4 separate regions of the Homo sapiens genome follow, and all the other regions are linked to region 2. Evidence: promoter capture Hi-C in 16 types of primary human blood cells and fetal thymus (Javierre and others, 2016). All regions are on one chromosome and are shown on one strand. The core of a region is centred on a gene start or on the middle of the fragment in contact, and the rest is flanking DNA. Distances in the headings are between cores, read along the strand shown.

Region 1 (3,156 bases), core at 341-2,840, 1.6 Mb before region 2:
AAGGAATAGTTTCATAATTTTGAATGGGATTAAAACTTGTCTCTCTTACTGTTGGTGGAATCCTGTCTTAAACAGCCACACAGGCAATCTAGCATGAACTAATAGTCCTTCCTTGGTTGGTTTTGGGCTGCAACTCATTGATAATCATCATGCTTAGTTTGCCTTTGTTCCAATTCCAAGCAGGCCAACCACTTTCCCATGTACATATTGTAACCACCCAAGGGGTTAACCTTGCCCGCTGCCTAGACAGAGCTGATTCATCAAGACAGGGGAATTGCAATAGAGAAAGAGTAATTCACACAGAGCTGGCTGTGCAGGAGACTGGAGTTTTATTACTCAAATCAGTTTCCCTGGGCATTTGGGGAGCAGAGTTTTTAAGGATAACTTGGTGGATGGGGGGAAGCCAGTGAGCCAGGAGTGCTGAATGGTCAGAGATTAAATCATAGGGAGTTGAAGCTCTCTTCTTGTGCTGAGTCAGTTCCTGGGTGGGGGCTACAGGATCAGATGAGCCAGTTAATAGATCTGGGTGGTGCTATCTGACCCATCTTGAGTGCAGCGTCTGCAAAATATCTCAAGCACTGATCTTAGGAGCAGTTAGGGAGGGTTAGAATCTTGTAGCCTCCAGCTGCCATAATTTTTAATCTTGTGGCTAATGTTAGTCCTACAAAGGCAATCCAGTCCCAAGGCAAGAAGGAGGTCTGCTTTGGGAAAGGGCTGTTACCATCTTTGTTTAAACTATAAACTACAAACTAAGTTTCTCCCTAAATTAGTTCAGCCTACACCCAGGAATGAACAAGGATGGCTTGGAGGTTAGAAGCAAGACGGAGTTGGTTAAATTCCATCTCTTTCTCTGTCTCAGTCATAATTTTGCAAAGGTGGCTTCAATATCTGTCATTAAATTGCTGGAATGTTACTTTATTTTGCATTTGACTATTTTTTTTTTAAATTTTTATTTGAGATGAAGTCTCGTTCTGTCGCCCAGGCTGGAGTGCAGTGGCACGATCTCTGCTCACCACAACCTCCACCTCCCAGGTTCAAGCGATTCTCCTGCCTCAGCCTCCCGAGTAGCTGGGATTACAGGCGCGTGCCACTGCACCTGGCTAATTTTTTGTGTTTTTAGTAGAGATGGAGTTTCACCATGTTGGCCAGGCTGGTCTTGAACTCCTGACCTCAGTTAATCTGCCCGCCTCGGCCTCCCAAAGTGCTAGGATTACAGGCGTGAGCCACTGTGCCTGGCCCGATTATTTAATATCTGAGAAACATAAGAGGCTAAGAAAAGCTTTGAAAGAATGTCATCTATTTTATTTATGCTTATATTATGGCCAGGTTATATTTCTTTTTCTTTTTTTTTTTTTTTTGAGATGGAGTCTCACTCTGTTGCCCTGGAGTGCAATGGTGTGATCTCAGCTCACTGCAACCTCCACCTCCCGGGTTCAAGGGATTCTCCTACTTCAGCCTCCCAAGTAGCTGGGATTACAGGCACGTACCACCACGCCCGCCTAATTTTTTAAAAGTTTTTAGTAGAGACAGGGTTTCTCCATGTTGGCCAGGCTGGTCCCGAACTCCTGACCTCAGGTGATCCACCTGCCTCGGCCTCCCACATTGATGGGGTTACAGGCATGAGTCACCGTGCCTGGCCAACCAGGTTATATTTCTATAGCCTCTCCAAATTCTGGGAACGAACCCCACTTGAGGCCTACAACACTAAATTCCCACATCCCCAAAAGATGTACTCAAATATTGGAGCAGTTAGCACAGTCCAGACTATCAAATGTGTTGACCTGAAATCTATTTTCTGTATGGACAAGAAGACTACAGACTGAGAATTTTAATAGAAGATATTGCCATTCATAAGAATTGTGCTGCAGGAAGGAAAAGAGACGAGAAAACCTACAAGCTTAACCAAGAAAATGGATCTAACCTTCCATTCAGTGGCCCCCAGATCTTCCTGTTCCTTTCCATGCAATGAACAAACATAGGAGCTAGAACCTGGTTCCTTGGTGTAAAACAAACAAACAAACAAAAAAACAACAAAAAAAAAACAGCCAAAACTGAGGATCTAAGGTCATCTTGACCTTTGTGAGATCACCACAAAGAAACAAATGCCATTTTGTCCACTGTGTGATCACAAACAAGTCAGTGACACTCATTATACCAGTTTCCTTAACAGCAAAATAGGGGTGAAAATCAGCCTCATTTTATCAGGAAGTTGTATGATTGAATAAGACAATGAATAAGATATATGTAGGACAGGCATGGTGGCTCATGCCCGTAATCCCAGTACTTTGGGAGGCCGAGGTGGGCAGATCACTTGAGGTCAGGAGTTCAGGACCAGCCTGGCCAACATGGTGAAACCTCGTCTCTACTAAAATTACAAAAATTAGCTGGGCATGGTGGCACATGCCTGTAATCCCAGCTACTCAGAAGGCTAAGGCAGGAGAATCACTTGAACCCGGGAGGCAGAGGTTGCAGTGAGCCAAGACTGCGCCACTGAACTCCAGCCTGGGAAACAGAGCGAGGCTCTGTCTCAAACAAACAAACAAACAAACAAAAAAGACATATGTAACAGGGAAATAATTATCACCATGCATTAAGAGGAAAAGAATAATATAGAAATTACTGCAAATTATATTTATAAGTGAGGAAAATCACTCAGAGCCAGTAATTTTACCTCTATATGACCCCATCAGCCAGCTTAAAGGAAATTAACTTACTTAACCAAAAAAACATTTATTGAGCACTTAATATATGAGAGACAATATATTAGCATTGAGAATACACGCTGAAAATAGCCTGCTAAAATTCCTGTTCTTATGGTACTTTGAGGTGGGATTAAATTCCATAACATGTCATCACCTTGATAAGTGGTTTAGATAAAAATACAGCAGGAAAGGGGATAGGGAGCTGGAGATTGCATTTTTAAGGAGGGCATACAAATGAGGTCTCATTGAACTGTCATTGGCATAAACTGGTGAGAGAGTATATTGCTACCTGGGGGAAGCTGTTTGGGGCAGAAGGAACTATGAGTGCAAAGTACCAGAGGCAGGCTCTGCTTAGCATGTTCTGGGAACAGCAGGTTAGGCCATAGTGGTGGGAGCAAAGACAGCCATGGGGTGGGTAAGAAGTTTTGAGCTTCATCGTTCACCTTCTTGGCTC
Region 2 (3,689 bases), core at 285-2,784:
AGCAGTCTTAACAAAGGCTCTTTTCAGAGCCACCCATGTATTCCTTAAAAGGGCTCACATTTTCTGTGTAAATAGCTATTTTGCAGTTTTCTTTAATAATTTTTCCATTTATAAGTGGGTGTTCTTAACACTGAATCGTGAAACTAACCGTCCATTTTAAAGATGCCATAAAAATACATAAGCAAATTGGCGGGGCGCGGTTCCTTACGCCTGTAATCCCAGGACTTTGGAAGGCCAAGGTGGGCGGATCACAGGGTCAGGAGTTCCAGGACAGCCTGACCAACATGGTGTGAAGCCCCGTCTTTACTAAAAATAAAAAAATTTGTCGGGCGTGGTGGCGCGCGCCTGTAATTTCAGCTATTTAAGAGGTTGAGGCAGGAGAAAATGTTGAACCCCGGAGGCGGAGGTTGCAGTGAGTCGAGATCGCGCCACTGCACTCCAGTTTCGGCGACAGAGCGAGACTGTCTCAAAACAAACAAAAACCCAAAAAAGCAAACTAATTAAAATGCAAAGAGACTTTATGTCACATGTAATTTAAATCGATCAATGCAGCGGCTCGTTAGGATTGCAAAGCTGTTAAAAGGCCTGAGACATACAGGAGAGAAGTTAATGTTTGTCAGTGTTTACATTTACATAAAAATATAGTTAGTGACTTAAAGCAACAGAACCAGAACAAATGTTTTATTGTCTTTTGTATGCATCTTAATGATACGAAATAACCTGTAATTTGTAAGTATTTTTTGGGTTTGTTTTTGCAAGCCACTTTCAACTCTACTGAGCTAACCCTAATTAATTATCAATAGGAATACAAACCTACATCCCCTGGAGCCAGACGGCCCTTAGGTGGAGCTTCTTAGCACAGTGTTCAGCATGACTAAAAGGGCACACTGGTCTTTTTGTGCCATTTATAAATTTGGCTTTTTTTTTTTTTTTTTTTTACAGCAGATTACACAAATACCAGTTGAACTTGTAAAAGATAAGAGTGCTTTCATATGAGGATGACATATTGTGGTGAAATTAAATGTGTTCATGTAGCTTAACATCAGGTTTCATATTGTTACTTATGAGTTAATAGTCATGGTGCATTTGGAACAAATTATTGAAAATATCTCCAAGTTTAAATAGACAAATCAAGATATGAAATTAACCTTTCTAAACTTAAGAGGGTAAAAAGAAATCACTTGGCCAATCACAACTAGCGCGCGTCTTTTTAAAACGTTGATCAAAGCCAGTTTCAGCGCCAACATTTAAAAAAAAATTAAGACACGTCATCCTAGTAGCTAGACACAATTTTGCCAAGGAAAACCAAAGTACGTTTTAAATAAAAGCTAGAAACATGGCACAGAGGGGAAAGGGTTGAAAACACCAGCAGTTAAAGATGGACGGAGGAAAGTTTTAATATTTGGTCTACATGCAGGAGATGTTCTGTCAGGGAGTGGGCGTCTCCACCAATCGAGCTGCAGGGGAAAGGCTGCCTTGTCCAATCAGAACAGGGGTGTCTTTATATATACGGGTACGAAAGGCTAGACTTTCGTTTTTTCGTCATTTAGCAGGGTTTAGAAGTTCGCAATGGCTCGTACCAAGCAGACTGCTCGCAAGTCCACGGGTGGGAAAGCGCCACGCAAGCAGCTGGCCACCAAGGCTGCTCGAAAGAGCGCTCCAGCCACCGGCGGCGTGAAGAAGCCCCACCGTTACCGGCCCGGCACGGTGGCTCTGCGCGAGATCCGCCGCTACCAGAAGTCGACCGAGCTGCTGATTCGCAAACTGCCATTCCAGCGTCTAGTCCGTGAGATCGCGCAGGACTTCAAGACTGATCTGCGTTTTCAGAGCTCGGCGGTGATGGCGCTGCAGGAGGCCTGCGAGGCCTACCTGGTGGGGCTGTTTGAGGACACCAACCTATGCGCCATTCACGCCAAGCGAGTGACTATCATGCCCAAGGACATCCAGCTTGCTCGCCGCATTCGTGGGGAGAGGGCGTAAATTGTCTTGTGAATGTGTGCTAACCAAAACCCAAAGGCTCTTTTCAGAGCCAACCACCTTTTCTATAAAAGTTGCTGTTTACTGTTGCTGTCCGTAAACTGGAACCTCTGTTCACTCAAGGTAAGTAAGCATTCTTGCCTCTATCCGTTCCCCCTCCCCTCACGGAATTGGTGCAAAAAGCTTTATTATAATTGGGGAGTTCTTAAAACAGCCTTTAAGGTACTCTTATATCTCCTTGTTTTGGGGGCCGCTTTCTTAGGCTTGGATGCCTCCGGCTTGGGAACTTTCTTGGCCACCTTTGACCAACCAACCTTCTCCAGCAGCCTCCACCAGCAAAAGCTTTTGGGGTCCGCTTAGTACTCTTTTTCGGAATAAGGACGCCCCAAGCTTTCTTGGGCCTCTCGGCTGCCAGGACAGCTGTCTTGGGCATGACTGCAGCGGCTTTTCTGGCCTCGGTCTTGATTTTCCTAACACTGCCTGGTTTGGCGGGAATGAACCTGAGGCGCTGCACTCCTTAGCACGAAGATGCCCTCGTTTGTTTTCAAGGCCCAACTTTATTCAAATAATTTTTAAAAATTTGTATTTATTTTTAGGGACGAGGTCTCACTGTGTTACCCAGGCTGGCCTCAAAACTCCTTAGCTTGGCCAGGCGAGGTGGCTCAGGCCTGTAATCACAGCACTTTAGGATGCCAAGGCGGGCGGATCACGTGATGCCAAGAGTTCGAGACCAGCCTGCCCAACACATTGAAACTTCGTCTCTACTGAGAATACAAAAATTAGCCGGGTGTGGTGGCACACGCCTGCAGTCCCAGCTACATGGAAAGCTGAGGCAGGAGAAGGGCTTGAACCCGGGAGGCGGAAGTTGCAGTGAACCGAGATCACACCACTGCACTCCAGCCTGGGCAGCAGAGCTAGACTCCTTCAAAAAAAAAAAAAAAATCCCCAAGGACAAACAAAACCACCAAAAACAACTCCTTAGCTTAAGAGATTCTCCCGCCTTGGCCTCACAAAATGCTGAGATTACAAACGTAGGCCACCGCGACCGGCAAGGGCCGATCTTCATATCGTAGCCGCCAACACCTACTTGAGCGCGGCCACAGAGAAGGCCGCTGCGCTTCTTGGAGACGGCTAAGTCATTAGTGATGAACTCACATACCGGAGGGGCCTGGACATCTTGCACTTCACTGCAACTTCGGACTTGCAACCTTTTTCTTTACTTCAGTCTTTGACTTGGGAGATAGACCAGGAGTCACGGCATGTACAGTTTCGGACATGATTGTAGGTTTGGATATCTAACAGTTAAAAAAAAAAAAAGTCAGGCTGCGAGTGTGTCTGTGATTACGTGTGTGTCACACACAGACACGCTGCGCGCTGATTGGTTCCCAGCTCAGTCTTTCAGCTTGGCAGCAACCTAGTCTCAACCCTGTTTCTGAGTTGTGTTTGCGGAAATTCAGAAAATCAAAATAGTTTAAATTTCCTGAGGAGGAATCACACCAATTCTATTCTACAATGAACTGGAACGGCTACGGTGTTATGATCTTTACATTTTCTTTCTCTAGTTTTTACTTAAGGCAGCCTCGGCCTTTATCAAAAGTTCCAACTTTCAGAGATTCACAGTTCAGAGGGACAACTTCTTGATTTTCATTTAAAATATAAATTCTTCCATTCGTGTCTTCAATTGTTTGCTGTCTTCTAATAATAGCCTACAC
Region 3 (3,490 bases), core at 991-3,490, 1.5 Mb after region 2:
TTTGCAGTGATATCTGCATTTCAACCAGGGAAATTTCAATGTATCTAGTGGTATAATTTAAAACTCCAAAAGGGAAGTTAAGCAGATATTTTTAGCCAAGGTGCCACCATCAAATCATCACTCCACAAATCCTATTGTGTTTGAAGCAGCCTAACCCTAAGTAAGCCATTTCTAACACAATGAAATGCATTTCTCCACAGTTAAAGAAGCTAAATCTTAAGTGAATGCTCTCTGACTTTTATCTGAATTTCATTGAGAAACGTTTGGTCACGGCTTTTAAAAATTTTAATTCCTTCGACTACCTTCTTATTTTATAGCCCTTTCAAGTTACAGAGAAAATTGAGCTAGCAGTGTTTTCGTCCTCCAGGGGACATTGCTGCTATTTCTTGGCTCATCTCATTAAGACCTAGCACAGTCCCATAACACAGTTTCATAGGATGTGCTCAGCTGTGACCAGGTGTCTCCAATTCTGTTTCACAGTAGCTGAAACTAAAAACTTCATTTTTTCCTCAACATCTGCTCCATACTGTTTTTTTCAGGATTATTATAGTAGTGAAAAAATTCTTCAATGGTGTATTAGATAAAACAACAAAAGCACAAGGGACAAATGAAAAACATAGATAAGTTGGACTTTATTAAAATTAAAGACTTCCGTGCTGCGAAGGATATCACCAAGAAAGTGAAAGGACAGCCCACAGAATAGGGGAGCGTATTTGTAAAGTATATATTTGACAGGGAACTTGTATCTAGAATAAAAAACTTCTACACCTTAATAATTAAAAAAACAATTTTTTAAATTAAAAATGGGTAAAAGGCCGAGCTTGGTGGCTCACACCTGTAATCCCAACACTTTGGGAGGCCGAGGTGGGTGGATCACTTGAGGTCAGGAGTCTGAGACGAGCCTGGCCAACATGGTGAAACTCCGTCTCTACTAAAAATACAAAAATCATCCGGGCATGGTGGTGGGGGCCTGTGGGCCCAGCTACTCGGGGCTGAGGCAGAAGAACTGCTTGAACCCAGGAAGCGGAGGTTGCAGTGAGCTGAGATAATGCCACTGCACTTCAGCCTGGGCAACATAGCGAGACTCTGTCTCAAAAAATAAATAAATAAACAAGTAGATAAATAAAAATGGGCAAAAGTTCTGAATAGACATTTCTCCAAAGAAGATATTAGAACAGCCAATAAGCACATGAAAAGATGCTCAACATCATTAATCGTTGGGGAAAGGAAAATCAAAACCACCATGACATACATCATACCCACTAGGATGGTTATACTAAAAAAGACATAATAACAAGAATGTGGAGAAATTGGAATACACTGCTGGAGGAAATGTAAAATGATGCAACAGACTTGGAAAACATCTGGCAGTTTCTCACATGGTTAAAGATAGAGTTAACATATATCCCAGTAATTCCACTCTTAAGTATATGCCCAAGAGAATTAAAAACATACGTCTATACAAAAGCTTTTAAGTAAATGTTCATAGCAGCATTATTTATAACAGCCAAAAGGCAGAGACAACTCAAATGTCCATCAACTGATGAATGAATATAGAATTTCATACAATACATATTATTCCACAATAAAAAGGAATTAAGTACTGATACATGCTACAACATGGATGAACCTTGAAAACATTATGCTAAGTGAAGAAGCCAGTCACAAAAGACCACATATTAAATGATTTCATTTATATGAAATTTCAGAAACGGCAAATCTATAGACAGAACATAAACTAGAAAGAAGAGAAGTGACTGCTAATAGGTACAGGGTTTCTTTTTGGGGTAATGTAATGGCTGCACAACACTGAATATATTAAAAACCATTGGATTGTACACTTCAAGTAGATAAATACGGTATGTGAATTATATTTCAATAAAGCTGTTATTTTAAAAATTCTTCCATGAAGTTGATCATGGATACAAGTCAAGGCCAGGTCAAGAACATATAAGCCGGCTGGGAATGGTGGCTCATGCCTGTAATCCCAACACTTTGGGAGGTTGAGGCAGGCGGATCACCTGAAGATCATACTGGCTTGTATGTCTCATATGTTTGTTTGTTTTTTTTTTTTTTTCCGACGGAGTCTCACTCTGTTGCCCAGGCTGGAGTGCAATGGTGCGATCTCGGCTCACTGCAATCTCCGCCTCCCGGGTTCAAGCGATTCTCCTGCCTCAGCCTCTCGAGTAGCTGGGACTGCAGGCGCCTGCCACCAAGCCAGGCTGATTTTAGTATTTTCAGTAGAGACGAGGTTTCACCATGTTGGCCAGGCTGGTCTCGAACTCCTGACCTTAGGTGATCCGCCTGCCTCGGTCTCCCAAAGTGCTGGCATTACAGGCGTGAGCCACCATGCTCGGCTTACTTTTAAAAATCTTTCTTTTTTAAACCAATGCTCTAAACTACGTGACATTTTCTGTTTTATCTCTGTGAGCTTTCCATAGTTACATGATTTTGAAAACAAATCAGCAAAGCACTAGCAAAATGCAAGCTGTATCTTCCGAGATTAGAAGTTATTTGGAAATCTCAGGACTCATCCTTTGGTTCTGGACAATTTATATTGAAGGGTGGGTACCAGTTATTCTTTTGGCTCATGGCTGAAATAATGTTATTACAGCTGATCTGTTTTGACTTCACGAAGTGAAAAGTAGTAATTGGGGTCCCAATGGACTTCTAAAATCTCAGAGTAGCCAATGAGTATATAAGCATTGCTTATGTGGAGTATTGACCTTTGCTAAGTACTTACATAACTGTGTTTTAAAGAGCACATTAGAGCTTTGAAAAATGGACTCAACGCTTTTTGGTGCCAAGGACGTGCGACTCGGCGGCAAACGTTTCGATGAAGACAGTGAACCACCTAAGGGGCAGGCTGTAGGTCTGAGGTCTTGGGGGATTCTAACAGAAAGTGTGTTCTGACAGCAGTGGGTAAAAATCCACGAGTCAGACTGGGCTGCTCCTCTCCTAAGCCACAGCAGCAACGTCTGAACAACGTCTTTGACCTTGTTCGAAGCTTGAGGACCGCCCTCCCTGCCTGCGCACGTGGCGGGGTGGGGACAGAGGCAAGTAGCACTAACATGAGACATCTGCTCCCGCACGCCGTTTAAATTCCAGGTGTCGAATTGAGTTCTAGGTTTGTTGCCGCAGGATACCGCGGGGCCGACCCCCAGGACTAACTAATTATAAGAATCGAAATAAGAATCTTCCAATCTCCAACACACACTTTCCTTTTCCTTCTTTGCTCCGCCCCTACCCTCGCCCACTCTCCGCCGACTTCCGCAGTTTTGGCCCGCCCAGGTCGCTAGTTCGGCTCTGTCACGCGCCCAGCCTGACTCTGAGAGGCTGACGAGACTCGGGAAGTGCGACTCCATCCGGGTGTTTTGTTGAGGATGGTTGAGGGCGTGCTTTTATGACGACATCGGGGCGGGGCGAAGAGCCAACTCAGGAGACTGGGACTTCCTGAAGAAGGGGGGCGGAAGGAGTGGCGGGGAGCCCC
Region 4 (3,339 bases), core at 550-3,049, 1.5 Mb before region 2:
AACATGTCTACACAAAACCTGCACATAAATGTTTATAGAAGCTTTATTCATAATTGCCAAAAGTTGGAAGTAACCAATATGTCTTTCAGTAGGTAAATGAATAAATATACTACGGTACCTCAGACAATGGAATATTATTCAGCCCTAAAAATAAATGAGTTATTAAAGCATGAAAAGACACGGAGGAATCTTAAATGCTTATTACTAAGTGGAAGACAACCAGGAAAATTGTTACCCTAAAGTCAATTGAAGAAAGTGTTGTAAGAAGGAGAATGTATTAATAGCTGCAGCTATCCCAAGTAAGGTGAGGACTGGGAAATGATTTTAGCCATGTGGAGATAATCGGCGACCTTGTCAAGGCATTATAGGATCACTGACAGTCCTTCAGAGGCTGGTAGGTGGATTAATGTGGTGATAGATGTGCGTGGAAGGTCTCTTCTGATTGTGAAGTAGGAAGTAAAGTCATCAATTGAACACAAGGATGGGAGAGGAGGTGTTGGAGCATTGGCATGAGAGATATGAAATAGTGACTTATTTTTTTTTTTTTTGAGACGGAGTCTCACTGTCTGTCACCCAGGCTGGAGGGCAGTGGCGCCATCTCAGCTCACTGCAACTCCGCCTCCCAGGTTCAAGTTATTCTCCTGCCTCAGCCTCCCGAGTAGCTGGGATTACAGGCGCGAGCCATCACATCTGGCTTTTTTTTTTTTTTTTTTTTAGTAGAGATGGGGTTTCGCCATGTTGGCCAGGCTGGTCTCGAACTCCTAACCTCAGGTGATCTCCCCCCCCGCCTCGGCCTCCAAAGTGCTAGGATTACAGGCTTGGACCACTGCATCCGGCTGAAACAGTGACTTAGAACAAGAGGATTGGGAGTGGACTAATCTAATCGCGTATGGTACAATTTGCCTGGTAGCCTTGAGCACCTACTTGACATTCATTGTCATGAATTTAAAGTGAGGTCTGTCAACTGATTGTTTTTCTTCCGCCATGTTTAGCTGCCCTGGTTGTGGCTTTGCCAAAGGAGTACAAAGTGAGAGAGGCAGGGAAATTGAGAGTGCAGCAAGAACGTGACTCTAACATGTGCTGGGTAAAGAGAGAAGAAAATTCATGAACTGGAGGGAGGAATAGGGAACAGACAACTGAGTCTCCGGGGATTTGTTCCAGCAACAAAAGCAGCCACTAAGCACCAAATAAGTTTCTGATGCATAGAGAGTCAGATAACAAGTAAAGATTAAGACACTATTATGTTTCCCAGGAACTTCTTATTGAAAGAGAGAGACAAATATATAAAAAGTGACAAATACAAACACGGAAGCATTAACCTGCCGTGGGAACATTAAAAAGCGAGAGAGTCAAAGAGCCTAACACGACTTCCTCTGAAACAAAAAGTGTCCTCGGAGCTGTGATGGCCGAGTGGTTAAGGTGTTGGACTCGAAATCCAATGGGGGTTCCCCGCGCAGGTTCAAATCCTGCTCACAGCGTCGCCATTTTCTGGTTAGATTTCCAATTTGCTACTTTCATCAGTTAGCTTTCATTAGTTCACTAGGATAGAAAGTTGTGAGTGCTATCGCTGTGGCTTTTACAGCGCGCGCACACTTGTGGAAATGTACATCAAGAAATATGTACATTTGAAGGCCGGGCGCGGTGGCTCACTTCTGCAATCCCCGCACTTGGGGAGGCCGAAACGGGCGGATCATTTGAGGTCAGGGGTTGGAGACCAGCCTGACCAACACGGTGAAACCCCGTCTCTACTAAAAATGCAGAAAAATTAGCCGGGCTTACTGGCGCACGCCTGTAGTCCCAGCTACTTGGGAGCCTGAGGCAGAAGAATCGCTTGAACCTGGGAGGCGAAGGTTGCAGTGAGCCGAGATCGCGCCACTGCACTCCAGCCTGGGAGACAGAGTGAGACTGTCTCAAAGAAAAAGAAGATACTAGTTGTCTTACATCTAATCATAATGGCAAATACAAGACAGGTGCAACGTTGAAAATATTAGGAATACAATTTCCCTTTTAGATTACTAGTATGACAGCTTTCTTAAAGCATTCTCAGGCAGCAATCTTTACTTTGTATTTGTCCTGATCTCACAGCTGGTGGGAGCCAAAAAAATTAGGATGATAACAATCCGTCATATGCATTAGTTGCTCTTCAAAGCGTTTTGTATAAACGAGGAAACAGAGGCACAAAGAGGATATATTTTGGCTTCTGACCACCTTCTTAAACCCATACGAAACTTCGTCTCCTTATAAGCACTTCTTCATTTTCCACTATTTTGCTTACTTTGAACAGCTATGCAAGTAAAGTTCCTTTTTCTAAGTTTCTATGTCAAATGTGATTCTGAAAAATGTGTACTTTCCCGAATTCTTGACTCCTCGTTAAATTTGAGTGTCTTCATCTGCTACTTTGAGTTGTAATACCATTTTACAATAAACTTCTCCCTAGTGAGTGGGTACTTGTTTTTTCCTTTTGGACGAGAAGAGGGAAAAACTATGATTAATACTTCCAGAAATGTATTACAAAGCACTTTACTTTTGGCAATATCTAAATTTAAAATAATACATATTGCTCATTACTGATCCACATACATCATTAGTGCCCAATGTAAGTATATTAAAAATGAAATTCAGGCCAGACACGGTGGCTCACGCCTGTAATCCCAGCACTTCGGGAGGCCGAGGCGGGCGAGTCACCTGAAGTAGGAAGTTCGAGATCAGCCTGACCAACACGGAGAAACCCCGTCTTTACTAAAAATACAAAATTAGCCGTGCATGGAGGCACATGCCTGTAATCCCAGCTACTTGGGAGGCTGAGGCATGAGAATCACTTGAACCCAGGAGGCGGTGGTTGCAGTGAGCCGAGATCGCGCCGCTGCACTCCAGCCTGGGCAACAAGAGCGAAACTCCGACTCAAAAAAAAAAAAAAAAAAAAAAAAAATCAAATTCAGGTAAAAGCAGCTGATTGGCCTGAAAAATAAGTAACAAAAAGCTAAAAAGTAGGCACACACATGAAAGAGAAGATAGAAACACCAATATTGCTTTGAAGGAAAGACATTCATCTTAGCTCATATATAATGTTTCAAAGATGAAAAATGGTCATTATTTTCAATAAAGACACTTTATGTGAATGTCTATTATGCCAACAAACCACAAAAGAAAACATGCTTTCCTTGAATCAGTGTGGTTTGGGGTTTTAATCCCTACCTAAATAAAGAAACAATCTTTTTTTTTTCTGGCCCCAATAGTATAATACAATATAATTATGAAAAGAGTAACAGTTAAGACAGCGTTACAGGCAGGGGCCAGTGGCGCAATGGATAACGCGTCTGACTACGGATCAGAAGATTC

The links. Contacts are between HindIII fragments. The CHiCAGO score rates a contact against its expected background, and 5 or more counts as called.
Region 1: a fragment that was not itself captured here is called in contact with the fragment with the promoter of H3C4 in region 2 in 4 of 17 cell types (total CD4 T cells, monocytes, M0 macrophages and 1 more); the score reaches 7.1 in total CD4 T cells.
Region 3: a fragment that was not itself captured here is called in contact with the fragment with the promoter of H3C4 in region 2 in 2 of 17 cell types (M0 macrophages and M1 macrophages); the score reaches 9.9 in M0 macrophages.
Region 4: a fragment that was not itself captured here is called in contact with the fragment with the promoter of H3C4 in region 2 in 2 of 17 cell types (naive B cells and total B cells); the score reaches 8.8 in naive B cells.

Annotation. Positions count from the first base shown.
Region 1 is chr6:27,798,264-27,801,419 of GRCh38, reverse strand. No RefSeq gene overlaps it. Among named protein-coding and RNA genes, the nearest start is that of TRQ-TTG3-3, 3.9 kb to the right of the region's middle. The HindIII fragment of the contact is 618 bases long and covers 1,282-1,899 here.
Region 2 is chr6:26,195,131-26,198,819 of GRCh38, reverse strand. H3C4 (H3 clustered histone 4) reads left to right here and starts at 1,534. Exons shown (of 1, transcript NM_001376937.1): 1 at 1,534-2,036. The coding sequence starts at 1,570. The coding sequence ends at 1,980. H2AC7 (H2A clustered histone 7) reads left to right here. Exons shown (of 1, transcript NM_021065.3): 1 at 1-36. It also overlaps the pseudogene H1-12P. RefSeq lists enhancers at 313-372, 403-462, 1,205-1,805, 2,184-2,293, 1,806-2,407 and 4 more. The HindIII fragment of the contact is 2,796 bases long and covers 1-2,162 here.
Region 3 is chr6:24,721,178-24,724,667 of GRCh38, reverse strand. No RefSeq gene overlaps it. Among named protein-coding and RNA genes, the nearest start is that of C6orf62, 3.8 kb to the right of the region's middle. RefSeq lists enhancers at 2,671-2,760, 2,811-2,860, 2,452-3,245, 2,991-3,490. The HindIII fragment of the contact is 1,539 bases long and covers 1,471-3,009 here.
Region 4 is chr6:27,670,589-27,673,927 of GRCh38, reverse strand. It overlaps TRS-CGA3-1 (tRNA-Ser (anticodon CGA) 3-1), which reads left to right and starts at 1,397; the gene lies at 1,397-1,478. It overlaps TRR-ACG2-4 (tRNA-Arg (anticodon ACG) 2-4), which reads left to right and starts at 3,291; the gene lies at 3,291-3,339. The HindIII fragment of the contact is 3,512 bases long and covers 44-3,339 here.